5 separate regions of the Homo sapiens genome follow, and all the other regions are linked to region 1. The links are contacts of gene promoters, found by promoter capture Hi-C in blood cells and fetal thymus (Javierre and others, 2016). All regions are on one chromosome and are shown on one strand. The core of a region is centred on a gene start or on the middle of the fragment in contact, and the rest is flanking DNA. Distances in the headings are between cores, read along the strand shown. Region 1 holds the start of KRT33B (keratin 33B). Region 2 has its middle 7.2 kb from the start of KRTAP3-1. Region 3 holds the start of KRTAP2-3 (keratin associated protein 2-3). Region 4 has its middle 6.0 kb from the start of KRTAP4-7. Region 5 holds the start of LOC124904002 (a long non-coding RNA gene).

Region 1 (2,585 bases), core at 48-2,547:
CATTTTGTTTCCACATCTATCTCCCCTGTTAGACTGTGAGCTCCTGAAGGAAGGAGACTGTCTTACTCAGTACATTATCCCCCACCCCAGCACTGTGCCTAACACTCTCCAACTCTGGGTAAATAAATGAATGATATTCAAATAGCACAACCCCTTTCTGGCATCTAATTTTCCAGATCTACAGAACAGTGGGCAGTCAATTCCCTCCCAGAATCAAGGGCTTGTACAATTGGATATAAACTCCCACTCATCCTTCAAACCCCACTCAGACATTGCCTCTTCTGGGATCCCTCCCAAACCTACACCAGGTATTCAGTCCCAATTCTCTGTGGACTCTTTACTTATATCTACTTCTCTTCCAGAACAGATGGCCCCATATTGTCATCTGTACACATGGCTGCTCTAGAGGATGGTCCATGTGTCTGTAGATATTGCTGGAGTCAACAGCTCTCTTGTGTTGCCATAAATGCTATATTTTGCTACAGCTTTGAAAGGCTTTAAATATTTGAAGATTTACTTAGGAAATTCTTAGCATAGAAAATAATTCAGGTGCATACTTTTTGAAAATGCGGTAATGCTCTGAAAACAAAACCAGGGTATCATAATCAAACCAAAAAATCAGATATTCTGGTTTGGAGTAAGACGCCATATAAGATTGCTATGACTGATTTTGGTCTAATGCTTCACTCTAACACCAGCCTGCATCCTTCCTTTGTGGCTCTACAACAGATTTTCTAAGACTACTTGATGTCATACCTAAGCCAGTGAATCTATGTCTTTATCATTCTCAGCATTACTGTGAACAGACTTAGATCCATTCACAGTTTAGTATGTCAAATATAGATAAGTAGTTCATTAAGCTGGCAGTGTGGTGCCCACCTCCTCACCTTCTGCTGGAGCTCCTCAATGGTCTTGAAGTAGGACTGGTAGCTGGGGCACAGCAAGGGCTCCTGCTGCTGAGACCGCTCCCGGATGAGGTTCTCCAGCTCCGCGTTGTCCCGCTCCAGCTGACGCACCTTCTCCAGGTAGCTGGCCAGGCGGTCGTTCAGGAACTGCATAGTCTCCTTCTCGCTGCCATTGAAGGAGCCCTCGCAGAACCAGTTGCAGTTGCTCACATTGGCAGGGATGTTGCAGGCCCCGGGCAGGGTGTAGCCGTGGCAGCTGGGGGGCACACAGGGCCGGGAGGAGCAGCTGGTGCGGCAGCTCAGGCTGGGCAGGCAGAAGTTGTAGGGCATGGTGCAGGGAGGCAGTGGAGCTCTGGAAGTCAGTTTCAAAACCTGATTCCTTTTCCCTGGGATAAGCCTTGGTCCTTTCCAGGGCTTTATATTCTGTTAGCAGTGGGTGTGGCAACCATGTCAAGTATTCCTCCTTTTTACCTCCTTTGCTGATTTTTCCATTTGTTATTTAGCCACTTCACCTGAGTCCTATACCTCATTAAATGTTTTACTCTGGCTTCTTGCTAAGTCAGGACTCCTCACAAAACATGCTGATTGGTTAAGTAAGAGCTTCATGGTTTGGCTTCAAAGTGACCAACCTTGCCTGTAGCAGTGCTTATCCATGGGACATTGAGCTAGAGTGACAGCTGGGCCCTGTCCCCAGAGTAGGGGGCACATATGTGCCTCTTTCTCCTAAATGAGGAAAGGCTTGTGTCTCATCCAGTTCATATTCAATTAAGACTCTGTGAGAAAAGCCATGTAAGGAAACCCGTCTAGAAACTAGACTATGTGATAGGGAATCCTGGAAGCTGAAATGAGAAAGGACTTACAAGGCCATTGGTTCAAGGCCCATTTGCAGTTCCATCCAGGCAGATGGAGGCAACTCTACCCTCTTCCTATGGGGCTGCAGGAAGCCACCCACCTCCGTTTCTACTAGTATTCAGTGTTCACAGAACATTAAGAAACCTAAATTTTGGGAGCACCTACTCTGCATGAAGCACTGTGCTCCATGCCTGTGCACAGCGTGACTCTGTCATTGGTGATGGGTCCTGCTTGCTGAGCCTCCACTGTGCACCAGGCACAGTGCCAGGCACCTCATATGCACCAGCTCCTTCAGTCCTCTCAAAATGCTGCAAGGGTTTGTAGATAAGGACCCTAAGCCTCTGAGAGGTCTCCCAAGGTCACAGAGCTCCTACATGATGGAGCCAGGGTTCAAATACAGATCTCTCTAATTCCAATGTCCACACTCTGTCATATTACATGTCTCTCTCTTCCAATCTTTTCAGTACTGAGATGCAATAATGCAAAAAATACAGATTGAGCTCCATTGAGCTCAATCAGTGCTGACAATATCCTAAATTAGAATGGGCCAAAAAATAACAAGCCTGTTTTTTACTTATTAAAGAACCAAAAGTCACTTCTATGCTGAAGGAAGGAAGTTTACTAAGTGAAAATGCCTCATACCCACTAGAAGCTTGAAAAAAAAAAAAAAAGGAAACCCTTGGTTGATCTGAGGGAGAAATACCCAAGCCTAGCTCTCCAAAGGATATGACCCTGAAAATCCACCACTATGTCATGTGCATGAAGTGGCATTTTATGACCATTGGCACATTTTGGCAAGCAGATGCTCTACTCTCATGCATTCCAGAT
Region 2 (2,585 bases), core at 56-2,555, 350 kb before region 1:
TTCCAGCTATAGGGAACAGCAGCAGTAAATGCATAGAAGTGGAAAAGAACAAATGGTTGTTAGGAAGCCATGAATAGTGCGCTGTGTCTAGAGAACAATTGTGTGAGATAAAAGCAAGATGTAGAGTCTTGACCCCAGGATGAGGTGTTTGAACTTGAATTAAGTAGACCCATGGAGAACCACTGGTATATATTTTTCTAAGGCAGGAAGTTACCTCTTTAACTCCGTCATTTGTAAATATGGCTAATGTTACTATCACATTGATAGGATGTTTAAAGAATAAATTAAAGAAAGCATTAAAATGTGCAATGCAGTGCCTGGAACATAGTAAGTCCTCAATAAATGATTCTAATAGGTGTGATTGTTGTTACTAAATAAGCAGAGGGAGGCTGGAGCTTTTTTCTTCCCCGTCATTTTCAGGTATTCTTTCTCTCCGACGATAGGGAATCTAGGGCTAAATTTGGGAGTTTAGCTTTTAGGTTTCCCACGCCTGGAAAGCCTGCCTGTTGATAGTCTTCATTATAGTTTTTGTAACCAGTGAAGACCCCGCCTCCAAAAAGCAAACTGTGCCCCTCGACCTTGCTTTGCTGGAACCCTGTGAGATCACTGGTAAGCAGTGTGCACTCCTCATGTCCCCTCTACCACGTTGCCTTTTTCAGGAGGCAGTCATCACAAACGCCTAGCAGGATTTATTACTCAGAGGGGACTGAAGAAATGCTCTAGCTGCTTGAGCGTGACTTCTTCCTCATTCTTTCTTATTACTATCTGTGATTTACATGAAGTGACACAATTTATATTTTGATACAGTTAAAAATTTCCTCTGTAGAATAAGATGTATTGCAACAGCTTGTAATTATAGCCGGTCAGTTTTCCTGAGTGGAAATTTGACATCTGAGTCCATTGGGATGAAAAGAGCAGAAAGGAGGAAGATAACATGAGATAAACGTTCCCACTAATATTGTGTGTTTTGATTTTCGAGAGTACACCACGCTCAGTGCTGGAGGTGAAGATTTGGAAGGCTCCAACATATAGATGAAAACTGTGCTTACTATGAAGCGCTTGGACTGAGAATGAGATGACCATTTTTATGTGATCCATTTTATTCAAATGGAATACAACATCACCCTGAGCAATGCTCTTCCTATTTTTAAAGCTATTTTCCACACATGACTATCTGGCTCATGCTATCCTCTCCATAGCCAAAAGGGCTTTCTGCTCCTGAAGACATACACTTGAGTGGAGAAGAGGAATAGAAAATAAAATTTCTGGAGCACCTACTATATGCCAGGCATATTACTATTAATAACCTTATTTGTTATTCACAGCAATACTGTGACATATTAGAACCCCCATTTGATATAGAAGACAAAAACTGAGCTTCTGAGAAGACTTGTCTAAGGTCACAGTCAGTGAGTGAGTAGAGTTGGGATTTTAAACTCAGGTCTTCTGATTCCTTTCTCATCCCACTCTCTGCCCCTTCCTACAGTTAAAAACATCTTCAGAGTGATTAAAGTGTCAACCTATACTCAAATACAATAGCAGTCCCCATTCTTTTTGACACCAGGGACCGGTTTCATGGAGGACAATTTTTCCATGGACTGTGGGTGGGATGAAGGTGGGATGGTTTTGGGATGAAACTGTCCCACCTCAGACAGATTCTCACAAGGAACGTGCAACCTTGATCCCTCGCACGTGCGGTTCACAATAGGCTTTGCGCTTCTGTGAGAATCTAATGCCACCGCCGATCTGCTGAGCTGACAGGAGGCAAAGCTCAGGTGGGAACACTTGCTCCTCGGCTGCTCACCTCCTGCCATGTGATCCAGTTCCTAACAGGCCAGGGACAGGTATCGCTCTGCAACCCGGGGCTTGGGGACCCCTGAGAAACAACATAACAAGTTTGTTTTGCTTAGTACACGTTAACACACAAAACAAGTGTTTTGTATGACTTCTAGTCTCAGCTTCTGGTTCCCTCTAACTACTATCCCTGGCTTTTGTGCAGTTCTCTTTCTGTTTGGTCCCTTCTGATCACTAAACCAACAAGCGTTGGAGTAAAGGGCAAAAATGTTAACCTCAGAGTTTCCTGAATTCTATCTCTAGGATTCTATTGTTTTGTCTCCCTCAACCTCTCCTGAATAGAGAACGTTGAATTTCCTTCTGTTCAGAGTTTTTTGTGGCTGTTGCTGTCAACCTCTGCCATCTCTAACTCTTCTCAAACTTCCTCATGCTTCCTGGCTTCAGTTGCTCTGAAAATCCTGAGTTCTTTCCCTTCTTCCTACCGTAAGGTTATCAGCCCACTAGGATCTTTTTTTTCCAGGGTCACAGGTGTCATCTTTTGAACAAGTCAGTACTGTCTTAGAGATAACATAATTGTAGTTCTTTACTCTGGCCCCATTTGGACCAAGATTTCTCTGATCCTTTTGGGAAAATATCTCGTTTGTTTCATTCATGCAACTAAAATAAATAAGATATTAAAAAATTGAGAAAATAAAAGTCGAAATTTTGTATGTTAAATATTAACCCATTAAAAGCCAGGAATTTTGATTTTCATGTTGTGTATTCTACCACTCCTGTTTCTCTATCCCATA
Region 3 (2,585 bases), core at 31-2,530, 310 kb before region 1:
GAAATTATGTCCTTTGTAGCAATGTGGATGAAGCTGGAGGCCATTATCCTAAGCAAACTAACACAGATACAGAAAACCAAATACGGCATGTTCTCACTTATAAGTGGTAGCTAAACATTGAGTACATATGGACACAAATAAGGGAACAACAGATACTGAAGCTTACTTGAGGGCAGATGGTGGGAAGAGGGTGAGGATAAAAAAACCATCTATCTGTTACTATGCTTTTGTTTAATTAAATTAATTAATTAATTAAGTTTTGAGACAGAGTCTCACTCTGTCACCCAGGCAGGAGTGCAGTGGCGCAACCTTGTCTCACCAAAGCCTCTGCCTCCCAGGTTCAAGCGATTCTCCTGATTCAGCCTCCTGAGTAGCTTGGATTACAGGCGCATGCCACCATGCCCAGCTACTTTTTGTATTTTTAGTAGAGACAGGGTTTCACCATGTTGGCCAGGATGGTCTTGAATTCCTGGCCTCAAGTGACCTACCCATCTCAGCCTCCCAAAGTGCTGGGATTTCAGGCTTGAGCCACTGCACCTGGCCATCTGTTACTATGCTTATTACCTGGGTGATGAAATAATCTGTATACCAAAACCCTGTGACACACAATTTACCTATATAACAAACGTGCACATGTACCCCTGAACTTGAAATAAATTTAAATTAAAAAGACTAAAGACCCCTGCCCTCACAAAGCTTCCCTTGCCTCACTTCTCTCAATGGGCAGGTAGATATGCCCAGGAATACATGCTGAACAATCAAAGAAATCTCTTTTCTATCACATGCTAGGAACTAAAAAGATATTTATCAGGAAAATGATAGTGGTTAGCCTTCCTTACCAACATACAAGTATTTAACAAAATCAAAAATATATGCAGTATGGATTAATGTTATCAGCATTTCAACCGCATTGCAGTTGTTTAAATGGTTAAGATGTATGCGGAGCTCAAAACTAGGATGATTACAACCAAGGCTTCATTTCTCCCTGTCTTCTCAGCAGCAGCCACTCCACTGGAAGTAGAACTGGCCATGGTGGTGCTGACGGGAACCATGGAGAAGATGGGATAGTGGTTCCTCCAGCATAGGATGTTCAGTGGCTAGGGATTCCCAGGTCTTGTTTGACATCAATTACCGTACAGTTTCCTACATTGGTGAACAAATAGGGCTATAACTTAGCTTAGACTTCCTCCCCCTTATCATGTGTGTGAATTATTCATAAGTCAAGTTTATGTTTACAGAGACCTACTGTAGTCTCACCATTTCGTCAGCATCACCATAAAACCTGCGACTCGAAATATGAAGGTGAATCATGAGATGATCAGATTTATTTGAAATGCTATTAAAATTATAGACCTTCCACCTGAGTTGTTCCTATTCTAAAGCTCAAAAATGGCCCTTAGAAAATCTCTCCTTTCGTTCTTCTGGTTCTGCATGCTGTAATGTAAGCTAAATATGAGCTTTTGAAGAGCAATAAACAATAAATAAAAAGAAATGTTTGCTTCCCCAGAAATATAATTTTATTTTTTTTTACAGTGCAAAAATACAGCATACAAATAGTATTATCCTGGAAGAAAAAAATCTCATCTGAGAACCTTGAAACAGTAGAAAAAAGGGTGATGAGTCAGTGGGACAGAGTTCTATTCAAGAGGAGCTTTGATTTTTATTTACTCGTTTTTTTTTTCAAGCCAGGAATTCGAATGATGAAAGCTGGAATTTTTCTCAAGATTGTCAGAGAGGGCCAGGATTAGCTGCATAATTATGTGGGGAAATAGATAGGATGTTATTGTTGAATTCGTGCTTGAGGATCAGCTAGGCTGCAAAGGTGGAGTCTCTCATCTGATCCAGAAGGGGTAGAAGAGTCTGCACAAGCTTCTGTGCACCTGGGAATGTTTCGTGCGTTGAGAGGAGAGGTGGGGTCTCAGCAGGAGGAGGTCCTGCAGGTGGTGCTGCAAGGGGTCGGCTGGCCGCAGGGAGGCCGGCAGCAGGGGGACTGCACAGACACAGGCTGGCAGCAGGTGGTGGCCCAGCAGCAGGGCCTGCACACCACAGCCGTGCACGACGAGGGGCAGCAGGTGATGGGGCGGCAGCAGCCTTCCTGCAGGGAGCAGGGGTCGCAGCACACCGGGCGGCGGCAGGGCTCGCAGATGGGGCGCGTGCAGCGGGGCACGCAGGTCACGGGGCGGCACACGGTGGTCTGGCAGGTCACGGGGCGGCAGCAGCAGGGGTCGCGGCAGCAGCAGGGCTGGCAGCAGCCTCCCCCGTAGCTCAGGGAGGACAAGGTGGAGCCGCAGCAGGAGCCGGTCATGGTGGTGTCTGAGGCTGGTGTGGGTTGGGCTGTTGAGAGGAGCTGGATGTTCTCAGGTGTGAATGTCCTCGTTCCACTCTGGGCCCTTTATATATCCTAGCTGGATGCTGATGACCCCCAGGACATGAGGTCATTTCCTGGAGTTGTAGCTGCCCGTTGAAATGAGAACTCTGGATTTAACTGCTGAGGCAGCGATCCCTAAATCACTAAAGAATGCTTTGTTTTCTACCTGTCTACTTTTTCCCTAGAACGGAATACCTGGTCATGTATATCATCAGAA
Region 4 (2,585 bases), core at 54-2,553, 290 kb before region 1:
AAGAAAGAAAGAAAGAAAGAAAGGAAGAAAGGAAGAAGGGAAGGAAGGAAGAAGGGAAGGAAGGAAGAGAAGGAAGGAAGAAGGGAAGGAAGGAAGAAGGGAAGGAAGGAAGAAGGGAAGGAAGGAGGGAGGAAGGAAGGAAAGAAGAGAGGGAGGAAGGAAAGGAGAGAAAGAAAGAGAAAGAGGAAGGAAGGAAAAGAAAGAAAGACAAGGAAGAAAAAGAAAGGAAGGAAGACAGGAAGAAAGGGAAATAGAGAAAGAGGAAGGGAGGGAGGGAAGGAAAGAAGAAGGAAGGAAGGAAATACAAGGGAGAAAACTATCAAAGAAATAGTATAAGAAAATTTCTTTCAGAAGGGAGCTCCAGATTAAAAGACCACCAGCGCTGAGAACAGTGAATGTAAGGCTTACATCAAGATACATCACTGTGAAATCTCAGAATATTAGGGATATGAAAATGGTACTGAAAGCGTCCAATGAGGAAAATAATATGTGGTTCCCATACCAAGGTTCAGGAGGCGAAATGGCATCACACTTTTCAACATCAACACCGGAAGCCAGAAGACAATGGGAAATGCCTTAAAATTTCTCAGTGGGATGTTTTTTAGCCTAGAATTCCATGCCTGGCCAAACTACCAAACAGAAACAAAGGAATAGTAACATTTTCAGATATGAAAAGCCCAAAAAAATCCTTATTGTCCGTGAACCCTTTCTAAAGTAACGTCTGGAGGATGTGCACCACCAACATGAAGAAGAAGTTGACAAAGAGGAGAACACAGATTCAGAAAACAGGAATTTCAAGTCGGAAAATCAGAATTGCATTCAAGATAAATCCAAAAATGGCAACCGTACAGCAAGCCTAGAAAGCAATCAGTGCAGAGGAGAACAGTAAGATGAAGATTTTGGAGGGAGAACTCTAGGAAAAAAGATCTTTCTAAATGGTGTGGTTACAGTACTATTTCTTGACTTTTAAAGTTTAGATATTATCTATTGGCCCACTGTTATGTGTGATGAGAATTTAGCTCTTACATCCCTCTCTATCCAACAGCCACCATTCTTCCTCTCCCTTTGTGTTCCAACTTCCCAATTGACCTGAGAATTCTAAATTACTGTCAAATGTAGTCTTTGAAAAGGTGCTCAACGTCACTAATCATCAGGGAAGTGATAATGAAAACCACAATAAGATATTACCTCATGCCTGTTAGGATGGCTGTTATCAAAAAGTCAAAAGATAAGTGTTGGCAAGGATGTGGTGTAAAGGGAACTCTTATACATTGTTGGTGGGAATGTAACTTGATGCAGCCATTATGGAAAACAGTATGGAGGCTCCTCAAAAAATTAAAAATAGAACTCACCTGTGAACCAGCAATTCCACTTCTGGATACATATCCAAAGTAAATAAAATCACTATCTTGAAGATATCTGCACTTGTATGTACATTGCAGCATTATTCACAGCTACTAAGATACAGAAATATCTATATGCCCATCCACAGATGAGTGGATAAAGAAAATGTATATAAATGTCATTATTCAAAATGCAATTCAGCCTTTAAAAGGAAGAAAATCCTGTCATTTATAACAACATGGATGAACCCAGAGGACATTAAGCTAAGTGAAATAAGCTAGACACACAAAGACCGATACTGCATGATCTGACTTATATGGTGGTTGCATGGGGTGGAATGAGGAAGAAACGGGTAGACGTTGGTCAAAGAGTATAAAGTTTCAGCTATCCAAAATCAGTAAGTTCTGGAAATTGAATGTATGGCAATGTGACTATAGTTAACAATACTGTATTGTACACTTGAAATTTGCTAGAACATAAGTATTTTCACCACAAAAAGAATAACTATGTGAGGTGATTGATATGTTAATTAGTTTGATTGTGGTCATCTATTTCACAATGTATATGTATATCAAAACATTATTTTGTACACCTTGAATATATGCAATTTTTACTTGTCAATTATATCTCCAAAGAGCTTTCAAAAAGCTAACAATAAATTCAACAATATGAAACACATGAGAAACATGCTGCCAGGATCTTAGAAGAGGGCAACTTAAGGGAGAGGTGGCTTGGGCAGAGAGCATCAGGAAAGGTTTGCTTGTGGAGGTAATAGCACCTAAGTCTTAAAGAACAAGTAGAATGGAGGTTCCTGCATAGTCTGTAGAACAGAATGAGAGAGTTCTCACCATTGTTGAATAGATAAGTGAATGATGATCTATAGCTGTATAGGACTCCTAATTTCCGATTATATCAAACCCAACAAAGACCTTCCAAAAGAACATTTCTGACCAATATAAAGCTCATCTGCGCACATGGACCTGCTATTGTGATCCCACCTGTGAGTCACACAGGGCTCTTCAAGGCCCTAAGCCAATCCCTACATGACCCTGTGAATATTCTGAACATTGAAGACTGTGGCATTAGTGATTCACTTTTGCTCTATTCTATTCTATTGGCATTATGTATTCCTAGGAGTATTGTGTGTTGGGGCAATAATTCATTACTTGACTAACATATTACCTGAAATTCTGATGATCAGGTTACATCATAGAAAAGAATTAGGACAATGTCCTGAATAT
Region 5 (2,585 bases), core at 47-2,546, 260 kb before region 1:
CCACCTATTTTTGTTTTTGGAGTTTTACTTGCTTACTTGCCTTCCTTATAAGGAAGGCAAGATTTACTTTTACTTCCTTTACAAGGAAGGCAAGATTTCCTGCTTCCATGATGATGAAAGGCATGTAGAGTTTGAGCTCACTCCCAGCAGGGAAGACCAGTTTGAGTTTTTTTCCTGCTTCTAGGGTGGTAGAAAGCAGCCTTCAGCCTGAGACCCATCCCTAGGTAAGTAGCTGAACTGGGGCTTTGTCTGGGCTAAAGTTTAACAACCAGCTAGCTGCTCTTAATTTCTCCTTATCATTAGAGTGCTTGGTAATCCTATGGTTGGAGATTTTGTTGTTTGTTTTGGTCTTTCTCCCATCAGACTTGACCAACTCTACCTGACTTGGTCAAATCCAAGTGAGAATTCAAAATTACGGGTAACAAAACCTCTCTAATTTGGCTAAAATTCATTGCAGCTGCAAAAGAAGAAAACAAACAAAAAGAACCAAAAACCCATGCACTTGGTTTCTGTGTTTGCTTCCTGTCTTAAAACACGAATGTTCTTTCGTTTACTTTTCTTGCACCATATACCTCCTCCCCCTTTGCCATATGCAGTACCAAAAAGTCTAGAGAAGGCTTCTAATGACTTGAACCCCCTTAAAGAATTCAGAACAAAGGTTGCCACTCACCCCTTTTGGGGTGTTTTGTTTTCTTTGTGGAGTTTCAAGAGTCATGGGTAGATTCTTCTTAACTCTAAACCTCTATTTTCCTGTATTGCATGACCTGACCTCTTTGGCTTTGACCTTGTTGTGTATAGTGGTAGATGAGAGCTACAAAGTTAAGGGGTGGCTGAGCAAGGTTTACAAAAAGTGGTCTTGGCTGTTGTTTTGTTTTCCTTCTAGGAATTTGTCGTTTAAAGATCCTAATTCTAGTTCACAAATGCATTCTAAAGGATCTTCTCTGTTGCTTTTTCTCCCCAAATTAAGCTCAATTCAGCTTGTCTGTGTGCATTTGCATGAGGAACTGAACTGTTGTTTTCAGTGGTGACCCACTGTGGAGTCCTGCCCACAAATGGCACATATTGATCCACCACAGAAAACCTCTAGGCCTCAGCTCAGTTCCTCTTTTTAAGAAGAAAACTGGGAAACAAATAATCTAAGAATGAGGAGAAAGCAAAGAGAATGATTCCCTTTCAAGCACTCCATAGGTTTTATGGCACCTGTACTTGCCAGAGTTTAAGTAAAATGGAAGTAATATGGTCTTTGTGCATATTTACATTAAGAAAGAAAGGGCCCATGTAAATTAGTTCAACCATTGTGGAAGACAGTATGGTGATTCCTCAAGGATCTAGAATCAGAAATACCATTTGATCCAGCAATCCCATTACTTGTTATATACCCAAAGGAATACAAATCATTCTACTATAAAGACACAGGCACATGTATGTTTATTGCAGCACTATTTACAAGAGCAAAGACATGGAACTAACCCAAACGCCCATCAATTATAGACTTGATAAAGAAAATGTGGTACATATACACCATGGAATACGATGCAGCCATAAAACGGAGTGAGATCATGTCCTTTGTAGGGACATGGATGAAGCTGGAAACCATCATCCTCAGCAAACTAACACAGAAACAGAATACCAAATACAACATGTTCTCACTCATATATGGGAGTTGAACTTTGAGAACACATGGACACAGAGAGGAGAGCAACACATATCAGGGGCTGTTGGGGGGTGGGGAATGAGAGGAGGGAATTTAGAGGATGGGTCAATAGGTGCAGCAAACCACCAAGGCACACATATACCTATGTAACAAACCTGCACGTTCTCCTGCATGTGTATTTCATTTTTTTTTAGAAGAGAAAGAAAAGAAGGAAAGAAAGCAAGCAAGCAAGAAAGCAAGCAAGCAAGAAAGAAAGAAAGAAAGAAAGAAAGAAAGAAAGAAAGAAAGAAAGAAAGAAAGAAAGAAAAGAAAAAGAAAGAAAAGAAGAGCCTTAAGGTCAACCTACAAACTACAGAGTTCCTAAGTTCTCTTTTTTCTCTATTTTCTTTTCTGCCTGCTTTAAATCTGCTGTTATTTTTCTATTAAGATCAAAACCACTGTTTGGATACAACAGGCTTTTTGTTTGCAACCTGGTGAATTTGTATTTGTCTCATGGCTAAAGTTCTGAAGTAAAAGCTATAGGATTTCTGTGTGTGTGTTTGTGTGTGTGTGTGTGTGTGTGTGTGTATCTATTTAAAAGGCCTTTATAATTTTTATAATTTTATGTTTAATTGGCAATTAAATCCATTTTGACTTCCCTCTAGCACCACCAGACTTTTTCTCTCTGTACCTTATGATATAATTTTGCTATTTGATTTTTGCCTGAGTTGTTTCCTTTAACATGCAAACTTAAGGCTATTTAGCTGACAACTCCCTAGGGGAGTAAAACAGGTTATTAAGAATTTGAAAGCCTAAGATAGGGGAAAAAAGCTCCTTAAGTATCTATACGATGTACTTCTATCAGCATGCCTACTATGTCTATATATTTATGTGATGTGTACACAATTTCTCGCTACTGAAAATATATAAAAGAGTTCTAATTAATTGGCTT

Evidence for each region. Contacts are between HindIII fragments. The CHiCAGO score rates a contact against its expected background, and 5 or more counts as called.
Region 2: a fragment that was not itself captured here is called in contact with the fragment with the promoter of KRT33B in region 1 in 6 of 17 cell types (total B cells, naive B cells, fetal thymus and 3 more); the score reaches 7.0 in total B cells.
Region 3: a contact is called between a fragment that was not itself captured here and the fragment with the promoter of KRT33B in region 1, in 2 of 17 cell types (naive CD8 T cells and total CD4 T cells). The highest score is 5.1, in naive CD8 T cells.
Region 4: a contact is called between a fragment that was not itself captured here and the fragment with the promoter of KRT33B in region 1, in 1 of 17 cell types (activated CD4 T cells). The highest score is 5.6, in activated CD4 T cells.
Region 5: a contact is called between a fragment that was not itself captured here and the fragment with the promoter of KRT33B in region 1, in 3 of 17 cell types (non-activated CD4 T cells, total CD8 T cells and naive CD4 T cells). The highest score is 5.2, in non-activated CD4 T cells.

Annotation. Positions count from the first base shown.
Region 1 is chr17:41,368,516-41,371,100 of GRCh38, forward strand. KRT33B (keratin 33B) reads right to left here and starts at 1,298. Exons shown (of 7, transcript NM_002279.5): 1 at 888-1,298. The coding sequence starts at 1,235. The HindIII fragment of the contact is 2,505 bases long and covers 1-2,407 here.
Region 2 is chr17:41,014,986-41,017,570 of GRCh38, forward strand. No RefSeq gene overlaps it. Among named protein-coding and RNA genes, the nearest start is that of KRTAP3-1, 7.2 kb to the left of the region's middle. The HindIII fragment of the contact is 4,126 bases long and covers 1-2,585 here.
Region 3 is chr17:41,057,746-41,060,330 of GRCh38, forward strand. It overlaps KRTAP2-3 (keratin associated protein 2-3), which reads right to left and starts at 2,369. Exons shown (of 1, transcript NM_001165252.2): 1 at 1,495-2,369. The coding sequence starts at 2,305. The coding sequence ends at 1,919. RefSeq lists enhancers at 1,539-2,113, 2,114-2,585. The HindIII fragment of the contact is 1,173 bases long and covers 695-1,867 here.
Region 4 is chr17:41,076,823-41,079,407 of GRCh38, forward strand. No RefSeq gene overlaps it. Among named protein-coding and RNA genes, the nearest start is that of KRTAP4-7, 6.0 kb to the right of the region's middle. The HindIII fragment of the contact is 3,521 bases long and covers 1-2,585 here.
Region 5 is chr17:41,108,156-41,110,740 of GRCh38, forward strand. LOC124904002 (a long non-coding RNA gene) reads left to right here and starts at 77. Exons shown (of 2, transcript XR_007065754.1): 1 at 77-224; 2 at 1,849-2,585. The HindIII fragment of the contact is 4,149 bases long and covers 1-2,585 here.